3 separate regions of the Homo sapiens genome follow, and regions 2 and 3 are each linked to region 1. The links are contacts of gene promoters, found by promoter capture Hi-C in blood cells and fetal thymus (Javierre and others, 2016). All regions are on one chromosome and are shown on one strand. The core of a region is centred on a gene start or on the middle of the fragment in contact, and the rest is flanking DNA. Distances in the headings are between cores, read along the strand shown.

Region 1 (4,314 bases), core at 503-3,002:
ACCTCACCCTCCCCTAGGTTCACTCAGCTCCAGCCACACGGGCTTCCCTCTGTCCCTGGAACATGCCAAGTTCATTCTTCCTTTAGCTCCTTTACACTGTTTATATCTGCCTAGAAACTTCCAGCCCATTTTCTCATGGCTGACTCAGCTAAACATTCAGCTATCACCCAAAATGTCACCTCGTGTTACCTCCTTAGGGAGGTCTTCCCTGACCATCCCATTTCTCCATACAACCCAGTCACTCTCAAACTCTCTACCCAGTAGTATCTTTTCTGACATTTATTCCTATCTAAACTTGTCTCTTTGATTTACATGTTTATTATATTCTCCAACAAAAGTTAAAGTCTTTGAGGGTATGGGCCTTATCTAAATTGCTCACTACTCAATCTCTAAAACCTAAAACAATGAGTGGCATAGACAATCACTCAGGCAAACTGTCCATTGAATAAATCCAAATGATGTTAATCACCATCCTTCTGTGAACATAAGTAAGGTAATATCCCTCAGAGGCTGTTTCATTTCATTTCTTTCATGCAGTTTTAGGCAATGCAATAATGCAGTTTTAAAAGACCAATGTTTGAGACAGTTAGATTTTAAAGACAGTGACTTCTACACGACAACATATTGTATGTTTTCATTTTATGAACATGAATAATCCACCACCTTATCAGAATCCATCAATAAAACAAGGATACCATAAGTCGTTTTGTGAGATCCTGCTTCTAGAAAGAGGCGTATGGGTAGATATGGTATACAGACGGGAATTACCTTTCAGAATTCTTCCTAACAAGGAAATGTGGCAAACTGGACTAATTCCAGTAAAGATTTAATTAGACCCGTTACTTGGTTACCTTGCTAAACTTATCCAAACTAGTACTGTGTCAAGTGATGAATTCAGTGATTCCATCTGTGAAATAGAAGACAAATGACACAGTGAACAAAGAAAAGTTCCACAATGTCCACCCATGTTTGAACTAAAAGAGAGGGGGAAAAATCCCTAACCCTAAATCAAAAGTATTCAAGCAACTAAGATTTCAAACAATGGCGAGATATCTACGAGTAGGTGAAGCAGTTAACTGAAACCACAGGGAGAACATTCATGATTCGTGCTTTCTTTCTTTTTTTTTTTTTTGAACACGACTTTTCTCAATGAATAGAAGAGACTCACAACCGCCTGTGTCTGGACAACCCACGCATTACACCCAGTCACCAATTCTTGGTCCTTCTTGGGGGCCCATGGCGCCAGCCCGGGGCCGACCCCACCGGGGACTCCTCAGGGTCCGCAGGCTGGAGGAATGAGGACACTCCCGCTACCTATATCCATCCCTGAATCCCGGCCCACGCCGTGGGAGCAGCGGGGCTCAGCATTCTGCAACTTCACTCTTGTGTCCATTATGAGCACAGCCTGCCTCGCCCCTCCTCCTCCCCTGGAGGCTCGCGCAGGACTCAGGAAACAGAACAGGACCAGGATATGGCCTCCGTCCGCGGGTCCCCTGTACGCCCCCATGTAAGTCATCTGACCCAGGAGACTCAGTTTTCCAACCTGTCAAATAGGGGAACGAGAAACCCAGCCTACCTTAACGGGTGGTTCCTGGCCGGCCGCCCCAGGCTGGCCCGGGAACTGCGGATCCGCGGTCGCGCCCCGGCCTGAGGGGCGGGGCTTGGCGGGGCGTGACCGGGACCCAGTCCAGCGGACAACGCGCAGCCCACCGCCCGCACCCAGCAGCCCCGGGACCTCCGGCCCGTGACGTCAGCACGCTGACGTCGACGCACACAGCTCGCATCTCGCTCGAGGGACCAAAGACCCGACTGGTTCCTGAGTGCCTCCATAGAGGAGCCAACCTATTGGCCAGATGACATGTCAATCTTCTACTGACCAGTAAACGACGCGGGAAGGAGGGAGAGGGCGAGCCGGTCTGCCTGTAGGAATGGGTGGGAAATCTGGGCATCCAGCTTTGAAACACGGAGCTGGTTGGACTTTCCCGCATTGTGCATCGCACGGTTTAACAAGCGCCCGCTTCCTCTTCGTCCGCGTTTCTGCGCCTTCCGCTTCCCTTCAGTTATTCGGTGGGGGTTTATGCTCCAGCTCGTGGGAAAATGTCATGGAAATGGGTTTCAGGGCCTCTTGGGCACCTCATGCTGAGCCCTCCAGGAATAAAAACAGGGCATACCATTTCTATGTCGGTACTCAGCTCAAGAGTCACCTCTTCTAACTCTCACTTCCCCCAGACCTATTTAGGATACCTTTTCTCAGCGCTCCTAGTTCATAACTAACATCTCTAAGCGGTAGTCACATTTAATTATATCTATATGTCTGTTTTCACACGAAGTTAGGCACCTTTTATTGTTTTATTTAAAATTTAATTAAACTTTTCTCCCAACGGATGCTACACTTATTCACATTTTTAGAAGTACAGAGGTATACAGTGAACATTCTTTGGATCCCCATTTCATTATTTGTATATTTTTCCAAAGTCATTCTAAGTACCGTTATTAATTTTAAATTACACAAGTAAGATTTTGTCCATGCGAAAAAAAAAAAAAGCTTAAACGTTACAATTATGCTTATATCCCTTTTAGGCCCTAATTACAAACCCAGTCTGTAGATGATGACTCCTAGTTCCTGTGCATTTGCAAGTGTAGATGTTACTTTTTTACACTTAGCATTGAAATCTTTCCATATCTGTATATAAATCTACCTCATTCTCTGAAAATGCTGCATGTCCTCAGAACCAATATGTGTATATATATACATACATAATTAATGTACCATTCCCCCACCCTCACGTTTGTTTATTAATATTATTATGAGAAGCAATGGTACCATAAATATATATGTAGATGCCTTTTTGTACTTAGGTCCAAGTATTTCTCTAGAGTGCAGATACCAACAAGAGAATGTACTGGATCACAGAGTTTGCACGATGTAAATCCTTAATAGATTTCACTGATTTGCTCCCCTGAGTAGTTGTTTTAACTTACATTCCCACTGCTAGTATTTGAGCAATTTTTCCCTGTATCCTCGCCAATACTGATAAAATACAATTTAAAAAAATTTTATAAACTGATAGATGTGAAAACCTTTTAAAGCATAACACATATACAAAATAAGTGTAATAATCATAAGTGCTTGTCTTAGTGACAGTGTGAACAAACTTGTGTAACCACCGCCTCACAGCAAAATTTTAAATGTTTACCAGCAATTTAGAAGCTTTCCTCATGCTCAGTCTTAGTCATTATACCCCTACACACAGATAGGCACAATTCTGAATCCTACCACCCAATTAGTTTTGCCTGCTTCTGAATGTTTATAAATAGTCATACATAATACGCACTCTTATGTGGCTCTTTTTGCTTAATACTATATTTGTAAGATTGATCCATATTCAAGAATATAATAGTTTCATTTTCATTTTTGTATATAATTCTAAAATTTACTTGCCTATTCTACTGTTGTTTGACATTAGATTATTTAAAGTTTGGGGTAATTACAAATGACGCTGCTATGAATATTCTTGTACCTGTCTTATGATGCACATAGTTACACATTTGATTTTGGAAGATCCCTGGAAGTAGTGTTACTATGCACAGGGTATATATTCAATATATTCAACATTAATAGACACTGCCAAATAGTTTTTAGGTTTTACTAATTTATACATGCCCTAGTCGTGAATGAAAATTTCAGTTACTCTGCATCTTTGCCAACACTTACTATACTCATTTGTGTTTTGTGTTCTTCCTTTTTCTTTTCCTTTTTAAATGTTATACATTCTGGTGAATATGTAGAGGCATCACATTGTGGATTTAATTGCATTCACTCATGTGTAGCCTCTGAAGTCTCAAAGAAATTGATGGAAACCATTCCTAAGGAAGCCCAGATAGTGGACTTATTAGATAATGATTTAAGTCAACTGTCTTACATATGCTCAAAGAACTAAAGGAAACTGAGAGATGAAGCCGGCTGGGCTTCTAGGTTGGGTGGGGACTTGGAGAACTTTTCTGTCTAGCTAAAGGATTGTAAACACACCAATCAGCACTCTGTGTCTAGCTAAAGGTTTGTAAATGCACCAATTAGCACTCTGTGTCTGGCTAATCGGGTGGGGACTTGGAGAACTTTTCTGTCAAGCTAAAGGATTGTAGATGCACCAATCAGCACTCTGTGTCTGGCTAAAGGTTTGTAAACGCACCAGTCAGCACTCTGTAAAAACGGACCAATCAGCACTCTGTAAATGGACCAATCAGCGCTCTGTAAAATGGACCAATCAGCAGGATGTGAGTGTGGCCAAATAAGGGAATAGAAGCAGGCCACCC
Region 2 (4,314 bases), core at 625-3,124, 270 kb after region 1:
TAAACATCTCAATAGTCAAACATCTGTGCACATCCTTCATTAGTACCTTGGGATACATTTGTTTAAATAGCATTTTCGGGCCAAGGAGTATGCTCAGCAAGGAAAGTTCTTGATCTTGTCAGTTACGCCCCAGAATGCTTGGACCATCCATGTATGGAAATGCTCACTAAGTGTATGGTGTATGGAAACCCTCACTAAGATTATTTCTCCTTCCCCATATTGATTAAAAATGTAAAGTTGGAACTGGTGGCCACCTTGGGCAAAGCTCCTCCCTTCGTCTGTGAACCATCAGCTGACAACATTCTCAGCACTTCCTACACTCCTGGCAGCTGGGAAATAGTGATTTGAGCCCCTCAAAGTATAGAGATAAATAGATGGCTTGATAGATGATTGATAGATAGATGGATAGAAAGATAGATGGATGGATAGATAGACAGACAGACAGACAGATAGATAGATAGATGATAGATAGATAGATAGATAGATAGATAGATAGATAGATAGATAGATAGATAGACAGATTTCTTAACTGCTGGAAAAGCCTATGCAACCTTCTCTATTTTTTTAACAAATCAAACTTAATAATATAACTGGTTAACTACAGGAACTGAAGAATTAGAGTATAGCAGAGTTGCCAATAGATGCTCTCTGTCTAGACTTCTTTTAAGATACATGAGAACTTACATAAATAGCCTTAGTTCTTACTTTTCAGCTCTAAACCAATGCAGTCTGATCACACTTTTGGTTTCTCTCCTTGGATACCTATAAGATGGTCTATCGCATTCTTACAGCAAAACCCCTTACTAGCTTGAGGGTGTTTCTGGTTGGGGTAACCAGTCCCTGAGTGAAAAAGAAGAGCACATTTTTACTGCAAGGATGTACCTGCTATTATTACCATTCAAAGAGCAAGAATGATTGTTTGGAATCATGGAATGAAAAGGTTGAATAAGACCTCAGAAGTCATAACCTCGCTTGTTGGAGAAAGGTTGTATAAGTTTGTCTGATTTCTTGCACATAGCTAGAGGCAGATCTGGGCCCTCAAATTTCCTGAATTTTGATTTACCAGTCCAAAGTCCACTGACTTCTTGGTAACATAAATCTGGGCTGCTAGAGGGACTATTTATTTATCACCATAGAAAGAGCAACAGGATAACAAATTTCTGCTTCTTGTTATAGTCTGATTTATGCTAATGCTGACCATATTTCCTATTGGAAAATACTTTTGAAAAGCAGTTTACACTGAAAGATGTATTACATCATAGTGAGAGGCATACCACCCAACAGTATATCAGTAATTAACTGATATTATTAGCCATAATATCAATTAATTGTCAACTCTGTGATTTAACTGATAAGGAAGCATGCCATGTTCTCCAGATGAATGAAGTACCCAAGATAGAGCATCTACTTTAATTTAAAGTACCCCAAAGAAGACGCTGAACCCTTGGATAGCAATGGAATATCCCCCCTTATTATTCAAAGAACAGAAATAAGCAAAAACATGAAATAAAACAAAAAGACCCAAAATATCAAAGTAGCTACTCAAAATGTCAAAACTAGCATTTTGGTGTGAATCCTTCTGGGTTTTCCTCCTGTTTTGGTGTATGAACTTAATAAGGCAGCATGAAAATTGCTCCACTAAAGAATGCAACAGTAGGTTTATATTGGACAGTTGCATAGCTTGGATGTATCAGAGTTTATTTTACCAATAATTTGTGAAAATGGACTTTTGAATGTGGTTCCCAAGTCATGTCAGTGTAGGATAGGTGTTTGTGACACAAATAACTTTCCTTCATTATTGAATACTAAAGACCATAAAAAATGTTGCCATAAGAGAGTGCAAAGCATAGGCTGGGCGCAGTGGCTCACACCTGTAATCCCAGCACTTTGGGAGGCTGAGGCGGGTGGATCACAAGGTCAGATCGAGACCATCCTGGCTAACATGGTGAAACCCCGTCTCTACCAAAAATACAAAAGATTAGGCGTGGTGGCGGGCGCCTGTAGTCCCACCTACTTGGGAGGCTGAGGCAGGAGAATCTCTTGAGCCAGGGAGGTGGAGATTGCAGTGAGCCAAGATCACGCTATTGTACTCCAGCCTAGGTGACAGAGCGAGACTCAGTCTCAAAAAAAAAAAAAAAAGAGTGTAAGCCATAAAGGTTTTCTATATTTTGTCTAATGAACATGTGTTACTTTTATAACTATCAGATACTACAAAAATATTATCAGACAGGTATATATATAGAATGTAGTTTGATTTAAAGACATTTAGACATGCTAATTTGAAAACTATTCCCTTGATCATATGTGTTTTCATCTGGGTCCTCAGAGAAGCAAATGCCAAAACAGAATTAAATGTGCAAAACGCCTGTGAGAGAGAATGGGGAGGGATCTGGGTAGGGCTGGGAGAGCTGTCAGAGCACAATGGATGTCCACCCTGAGTGAAGGAGAGAGGGAAGAGAGAAGAAAGGTTGGGTAGAAGCATTCCAGACTGCTGTAAAGTCTAAGGAAAGTTTGGCAAGGTTACTTGGGAGTCTTGAGCCAGTCATCTGTCAAAGGAGTCCCTCTTCTCCCAGGGATAGCTCTAAGTATCCTGTTGTGCTCAGTCACTGACTGGGAGCAACCCATAGGTAGTGTGGTCTTGCTGCAAAGGTGACAGTGAATTTCAGGGTGCAGAGCTAGAACCCTTGTCAATATGGCCCCTGCAATTGGAGGTTGTGATTCACATTCTCATACTCATCACACTATGACAATCATAAAAATATTAAAGTTTGACCACCATACTTTTCCAGCACAAACTATAAAGTAGTGTCAAGCAACAGAATGTCTCTGTCAATTTCTGTAACTGGCAGCCATACACTATTTAATCCCTAAGCCTTCGACTTTTGTCTTCATGCTTTTTCATGTCTTTTTCTTTTCGAATTTATTAAAGAAAGAATATGTTGATCACCACTACAGAACTTACAGTATTTATTTGCTTTGCTACCTGAGAGAAATTTCTGTCTACTGGAATGTAAGAAAATATTTGTAAAGAGGTAATTAATGTCAAGAACAAAGCCATGGTGTGTAATTTTGCCTTTACAGCCTAAGTCTAATATATTTAGTTGTGATATTTGTATGAGAAAAATTTTATAACTAAAACATGCAGCTGCAGTATCTCAATGAGAACAACTTTCTAATGGCCAGTATGGCTCACTTAAATGACATATTATGAAAAGGGAAAACAATTAAATTGTTTATTAACAATTATATTCAGCTAACAGGGAGGGCATATAATCAGAGGACTATTCCTAAATCTCATAACATTATAAGAACTTGAATAATATAACAAGGTGCAAAGAACTGAAGTTAAGCAAAAAAAATGGTATTATGAATAAAATTTCGCCATGGTACCAAAATAAATCTAAAATAATGTTGTTGATTCAAACTGATGGACTTTTAAAATTCACTAACATTTTAAGAATAATTATAATCATTTAAAATATTCATTATGTCATTGAAATAGTTCAGCAGCTGAAAATTAGGCAGACAATTGCTGAGTCAACTTTCTCCCTTTTTGGAATGCATAAAATGTTTGGCTTTGGAGGTCATCCAAAGTAGCTTCCAATGGTTGAGCAGGTTCAGACACAGTTCAGATAGGCATCAGTGTCAGGAATCCCTTTCAGTGTCCAGAAGGGGCACTAAGACAGTCCAGCTAGAGGGCCACAAATAGAGGACAGCATATTTTACGAAATCTGTCCATCTTCCACAGGGCATCCAAAGAAGGTACTGGAGAGCATTAGGCTCAAATCAAGAATGCTTTGGGTGTCCTGTCATGGAACTGGGCTGGATGGACTGGGTGTAGCCATCAGAGAGACTCTGGCTTTAGGGTCAAGGTGCATGACTGAGCCAGTACTAGAGAATGGGGACTGTTCTGTCTGGGGGAATTCATGTAGACACTGACCTCATCCCAGCGAAGTCATCCTCATGTATTTGGCTGATGGGATAGAGGCAGTTTCTGCACAGGTGTCCCATTGCCTACTTACTGAGCCTGTCCCTGAATTCAGACCCACATCCCCACCCTCCTGGGTATCTCATCAGCTGACAGTTCTCAGCCTCAAGCTCCAACTTTTCCTGCTGATTTTTCAGGCCTTACTTGTCTCAGCCACAGTGGTCCAGGCCATGCTTTTACTACCTAAAGTCCAGCCGAAATTCAAGACCAGCCCATTTAGCAGAAGCCCTGGTGACTTTCTAGCCTTTTAAAATCTTTCTCCCCCAGAGGCAAGAAGATATTTCCAAGTACTGCTAACCCCAGTCCTTACATGCCTACCTCTTGCT
Region 3 (4,314 bases), core at 875-3,374, 260 kb after region 1:
GTTGAACCTCTTCAATACTTCCCTAATGCATTCACTTGCCCCCTGTTCACCATTTCCATCGCTACTACCCATCTCTCACCTGGACCACTACGACAATCTCCAAGATTGTGTTCTCACTTCCACTTTTGCTCCACATGGCTCCATTTTGTGTCCACATCTTGGGAATGCATTCTTAAGGACACATCCAGGGATCTTTATATAATCTAATCACAAATTCCACTGTTTAAAACTCCTCAGTATGACCCTTCGCCATGTCCTGGGCTTCAGCCCTAATAGTGAGTGGTCTGTGGTTTTTGGAATTTACTCAGCTCTAAAAACTCCGGGATGGCACACACATACCAGGCATGGATACACCTGCATCCCCCTGGACCAGCAGTCTCTCCACATCTCCCTGGAAAACCTGTACAGGTGTTTTGGAACTCACTCTCATTTCAGCTCCTCCAGGAAGCCTGGGTTAGGTGCCCAACTGAGTTCTTCTCATCACAACCCCAGCTCTCACCCCTCATCCCACTGTATGGAAATTTTTTTTATTTATGTGACTTCACCTCCAGACTCTGACCTCCCTGAAAGCCAGGAGCCATTCTGTTTATACACAGTGCCTAACATGAACAAATGCTTGTTAAATAAATGAATGAATGTGAACCTGGTATACCATAGGCGTCAGAACCCCCCCCTAGCTTCCTCAAGCATTAGCTGTGTGATCTTAAGAAAGTTGCTTAATCTCCCTAGACCTCAGAGTTATTGTCTGTAAAATGGAGATCATAAAACCTATACTGTCAAGTTATTGTGAGATTTAAACTAAATTATATAATAGATGTAAAGTCCTCAGTGTCATGCCTCATATATAATAAGTATGCAACTGTTAGTTGTTATTATTATTACTGTGCCCTTCAAGACCCTACTGAAAACATTCATGTTCTTGAAAGACTTCGAATCAATTCCCAGTCCACCATGATGACTGTGCTGCTCTGTGCTGCATTTCATAATGCATTATTTTGCACCCTTGATATTGTTTGAAAGGGTCTGCCCTTTCCGTACTTTCTTCAAGTCGCCTAATACTTGAACAAATGCTTTTAGAATAAATGATATTATCAAGTTTGGTTTTGTTCTATAAACTAATGGTGCCCTTTTGCTATAGATCTTACAGTCCATTGGCGTTTCAAACCATGGAAATTCACTTTGCAACTCCTAATGATGCAAATGCCATAAAGAGAGGCCAGTGAGAGGAACACACTTAGGGGGAACGGCAGGGCTCTGGAAGGGAGACAGGTGGTGATCCCAAATTAGAAATCAGGTCTTAAAGGGGCCACAAGCGAGATGACATCTCAAAAAGAGGGTTTCCTTTGTCACAACAGATGTGAAAAGGTGAATGGTCAGACCAATACTTAAAAGAAACTTACAGCTTTGCCCCTGTAAGCGATACTGTGCAGCCATTAAAAATAGGAGGCAAGCTAATAAAATGGCAAATAAGAACATATAAGGGACAATGTTAAGTTAAAAAAAGATTCAGATAACGTATGGCTTTTGATCATAGTATGTAAAATTTGCTTTAAAATAAACAAAAAACTTAAAAGGAGTAGACCAAAATTTTAATGCTGTAACAATTTGCTAAGTTTGTGGGTGAAATTTTCTTTTTATCACTTTCCCATACCGTTTGTAATCTTGCCATATTCTTTTAAAATACAAAAAGTATTTCTTAGAAAATACATATTCTGCGTGCCTCTCTAGCAGATGTCTCTAGAAAGAAATGAGATAGCGCAGAAGACACGCCCTAGACTGCAGGGGGCTCCATGAGCCCAGAGCCTGACTCAGCAGCGTGAGAACAGGGGCGAACCTGGGCATGGGGCACTCTGCAGCTTGATCCCGCCCTGGATGGGTCCCTTCTTTACCTGCCACCGCCTCGCTGGGTGTTACTGAGTCCCCCGCCAGCAGGCCGCCCTCGGTGGGCGCAGCGCCCCTCCCAGTCCCGGACCATGCTATCCCCAAGAGACCCTCCTCGCGAAAGATCTCTCTGGGAGAAGGGAGGAGCTGCAAGGGGCCGGAAAGAGTTACAGGGCGCAGGCCTCTGCGACCTCGCCCTCCCCATGCCCGCGCGGCTCCCTACTCCCGCCCCGCGGGCCGATGACCTGTACCTCTTGCAGGGGATCAGCGCCTTCCTCTCGTCCAGCACCCGCACGCGCTGGTTGAGCCCGTCGTAGGAGAGCAGGGCGCGGCTGTTGCGCCCGCTACTTTGCTGGTACATAACCTGGCGCCCCTCCCACTGCTGCGGCGCCTGGCACGGGCGCGGGGCTCCCACCGCCCCCAGGCTGCACAGGCCGCACAGGGTCCAGGCCCAGAGGCCGCCCAGCAGCCAGGCACCCAGGGCGCCCGGGACGGTGCGGAGGGGAGCGCGTCCTGGCATCGCGGTCAGCCTTCCCCGGCCCGAGGGCAAGCCCAAGCCCAAGGGGGCGCTGAGGCGTCCGGGATCAGAGTGGCTCCCGCCGGCTCTTTCCGCACTGTGCCGGGAGTGTGGTCTGGACCAAAGTGCTTCCTGTCCCTTCGGTGGCCTCTGCCGCTTTTGAGATCCGGACGCGCGAGTCCCGGTAGCCGGGACCAGGGCCCGGGGAAGGCTCCAGTGAATCGCGCGGGAGCTATTTCTGCCTGGGCCACTGCCTGCTGCCACTGCCTGCTGCCACTGCCTTCTGCCGCTTCGGTTTTCACTGCTCACTGCTGCCAACAGGAAATGCAGTGGCAGTGGTGCCACTAGCATCCTGGGAGGCATCGTGTTTTAAGAGGGGGGATGGGGGGAGACTGTGCTGAGAAGTGTGTTTCTCCACTAACTTCAGTGTTCAACAGGTAATCACACAGGGAGGGGCAAGTTCAAGGTCAAGATAGGAAAAGCAGAGCTGCTGCGTTTGCTGTGCAAACGTTTGCCCCGCCTACATTGCCCCTCGACAAAATTGCAAACTTCTTCCTCCAAATTAAAAGTGGAAAGACGAGTCTTTTCCTGAAGAAATGATACTAGCTATTCATCATGGCCGCTCCTCAGCTCCCATTCCCAGTGAAGAGTCTAGGAGACTAGTAGACAGCCCCTTGCATTGGGCCTAGGACTCATGGACATAGCCTCAAGGTCACATTGCAGTGAGACTGCTCCTCCCATCGCCTGGCAATACCACCAGCCGAGTGGTTTGGGTGTCTGGGGGGTTTCGCTTCTTCAAGAATAAGGTTAATTGGGTTTATAGTTATGTAATGTTAGGATCTATAATATGGAATGAGCGAGGCTCACACACCTGTAGTCCCAGCTACTCCTGAGGCTGAAGTGGGAGGATCGCTTGAGCCCAGGAGTTAGAGGTTGCAGTGAGCTATGATCATGCCACTGCACTCCATCCAGCCTGGGTGACATGGCGAGACCCTGTCTCTAAAAATATAGTGATAAAGTATGAAATCAAGAAAAAAGAAAGGAACTAAAAAAATGTATAGCGTCTTTCCATTTGAACTGCATTTCAAGGATGATTAAGATTGAGCCAGGTGAAAGTGGGAGATAACATTCCTGAATGAAGGGCATAAGGACAAGAAAAGAATAATGCTGGGGTTCAAGGACAAGGTAGAGGAGTACTCTGAAGCCATAGCACTCATTTTAAGGAATTTGTCATTGATATTGAGGACTGTGGGAACTATCAATCAATGTAAAGCTAGGGAGGAGCATCATCAGGCATATGCTTTAGAAAGCCCACTTAGACAACAGAAAGGGTAGGGCCAGAGGGAAGGCAGGGAGAGGAGGAAGCTACTGTTATCATCCTGGAAAGAGATGATCCTGACTCAGCTAAGGCAGCGGGAGTGGTCATGGAAAGGGTGGAAGACAGGTGGGAGCTGTAGAGAAGCATTTCAACTCAGAGAGAGAGGTTTCTGGTTTGGGCCACTGGGAATCCAGTCCTGAGTGAGGAGAGATGATCAATTCATTTTAGGATTGGTTGATCTTGAGCTGACTGTGGAGTATTAAGGTGGAAATATCCAAGGGACAGCTGGATAAATACTTCTGGAAACCAGCAGAGCTTTTGGATTAGGAAGCCATAGGTACATAGGTGGTAAATGAAGCCGAAGAGTAGAACAGTGGTTCCTGGGGAAATTTCACATCCCCCTCCCCAGCAAAGAAACATTTGGCAATATCTGGAGACATTTTTGATGATCACAATGTAGATGGGGAGGAGGCTACCGCTGACATTTTGTGGGTAGAGGCCAAGGATGCTACTAAACTTCCTACAATGTGCAGTACAGCCACCTCCCCTCTCCCAAATGAAGAGAAAATTATCTGGCCCCAAATGTCCTAAGTGTTGG

Evidence for each region. The method cuts DNA at HindIII sites, captures the fragments that hold promoters and counts their contacts. A CHiCAGO score of 5 or more calls a contact.
Region 2: a fragment that was not itself captured here is called in contact with the fragment with the promoter of STARD3NL in region 1 in 1 of 17 cell types (megakaryocytes); the score reaches 5.3 in megakaryocytes.
Region 3: a fragment that was not itself captured here is called in contact with the fragment with the promoter of STARD3NL in region 1 in 1 of 17 cell types (megakaryocytes); the score reaches 5.4 in megakaryocytes.

Annotation. Positions count from the first base shown.
Region 1 is chr7:38,175,683-38,179,996 of GRCh38, reverse strand. STARD3NL (STARD3 N-terminal like) reads right to left here and starts at 1,752. Exons shown (of 9, transcript NM_032016.4): 1 at 1,577-1,752. RefSeq lists a silencer at 1,496-1,775 and enhancers at 2,026-2,105, 3,853-4,314. The HindIII fragment of the contact is 5,243 bases long and covers 1-2,547 here.
Region 2 is chr7:37,901,638-37,905,951 of GRCh38, reverse strand. It overlaps SFRP4 (secreted frizzled related protein 4), which reads left to right. Exons shown (of 6, transcript NM_003014.4): 6 at 1-20. Among named protein-coding and RNA genes, the nearest start is that of SFRP4, 13 kb to the left of the region's middle. The HindIII fragment of the contact is 5,001 bases long and covers 1-4,314 here.
Region 3 is chr7:37,919,027-37,923,340 of GRCh38, reverse strand. EPDR1 (ependymin related 1) reads right to left here and starts at 2,701. Exons shown (of 3, transcript NM_017549.5): 1 at 2,133-2,701. The coding sequence starts at 2,401. RefSeq lists a silencer at 2,007-2,456. The HindIII fragment of the contact is 5,102 bases long and covers 1-4,314 here.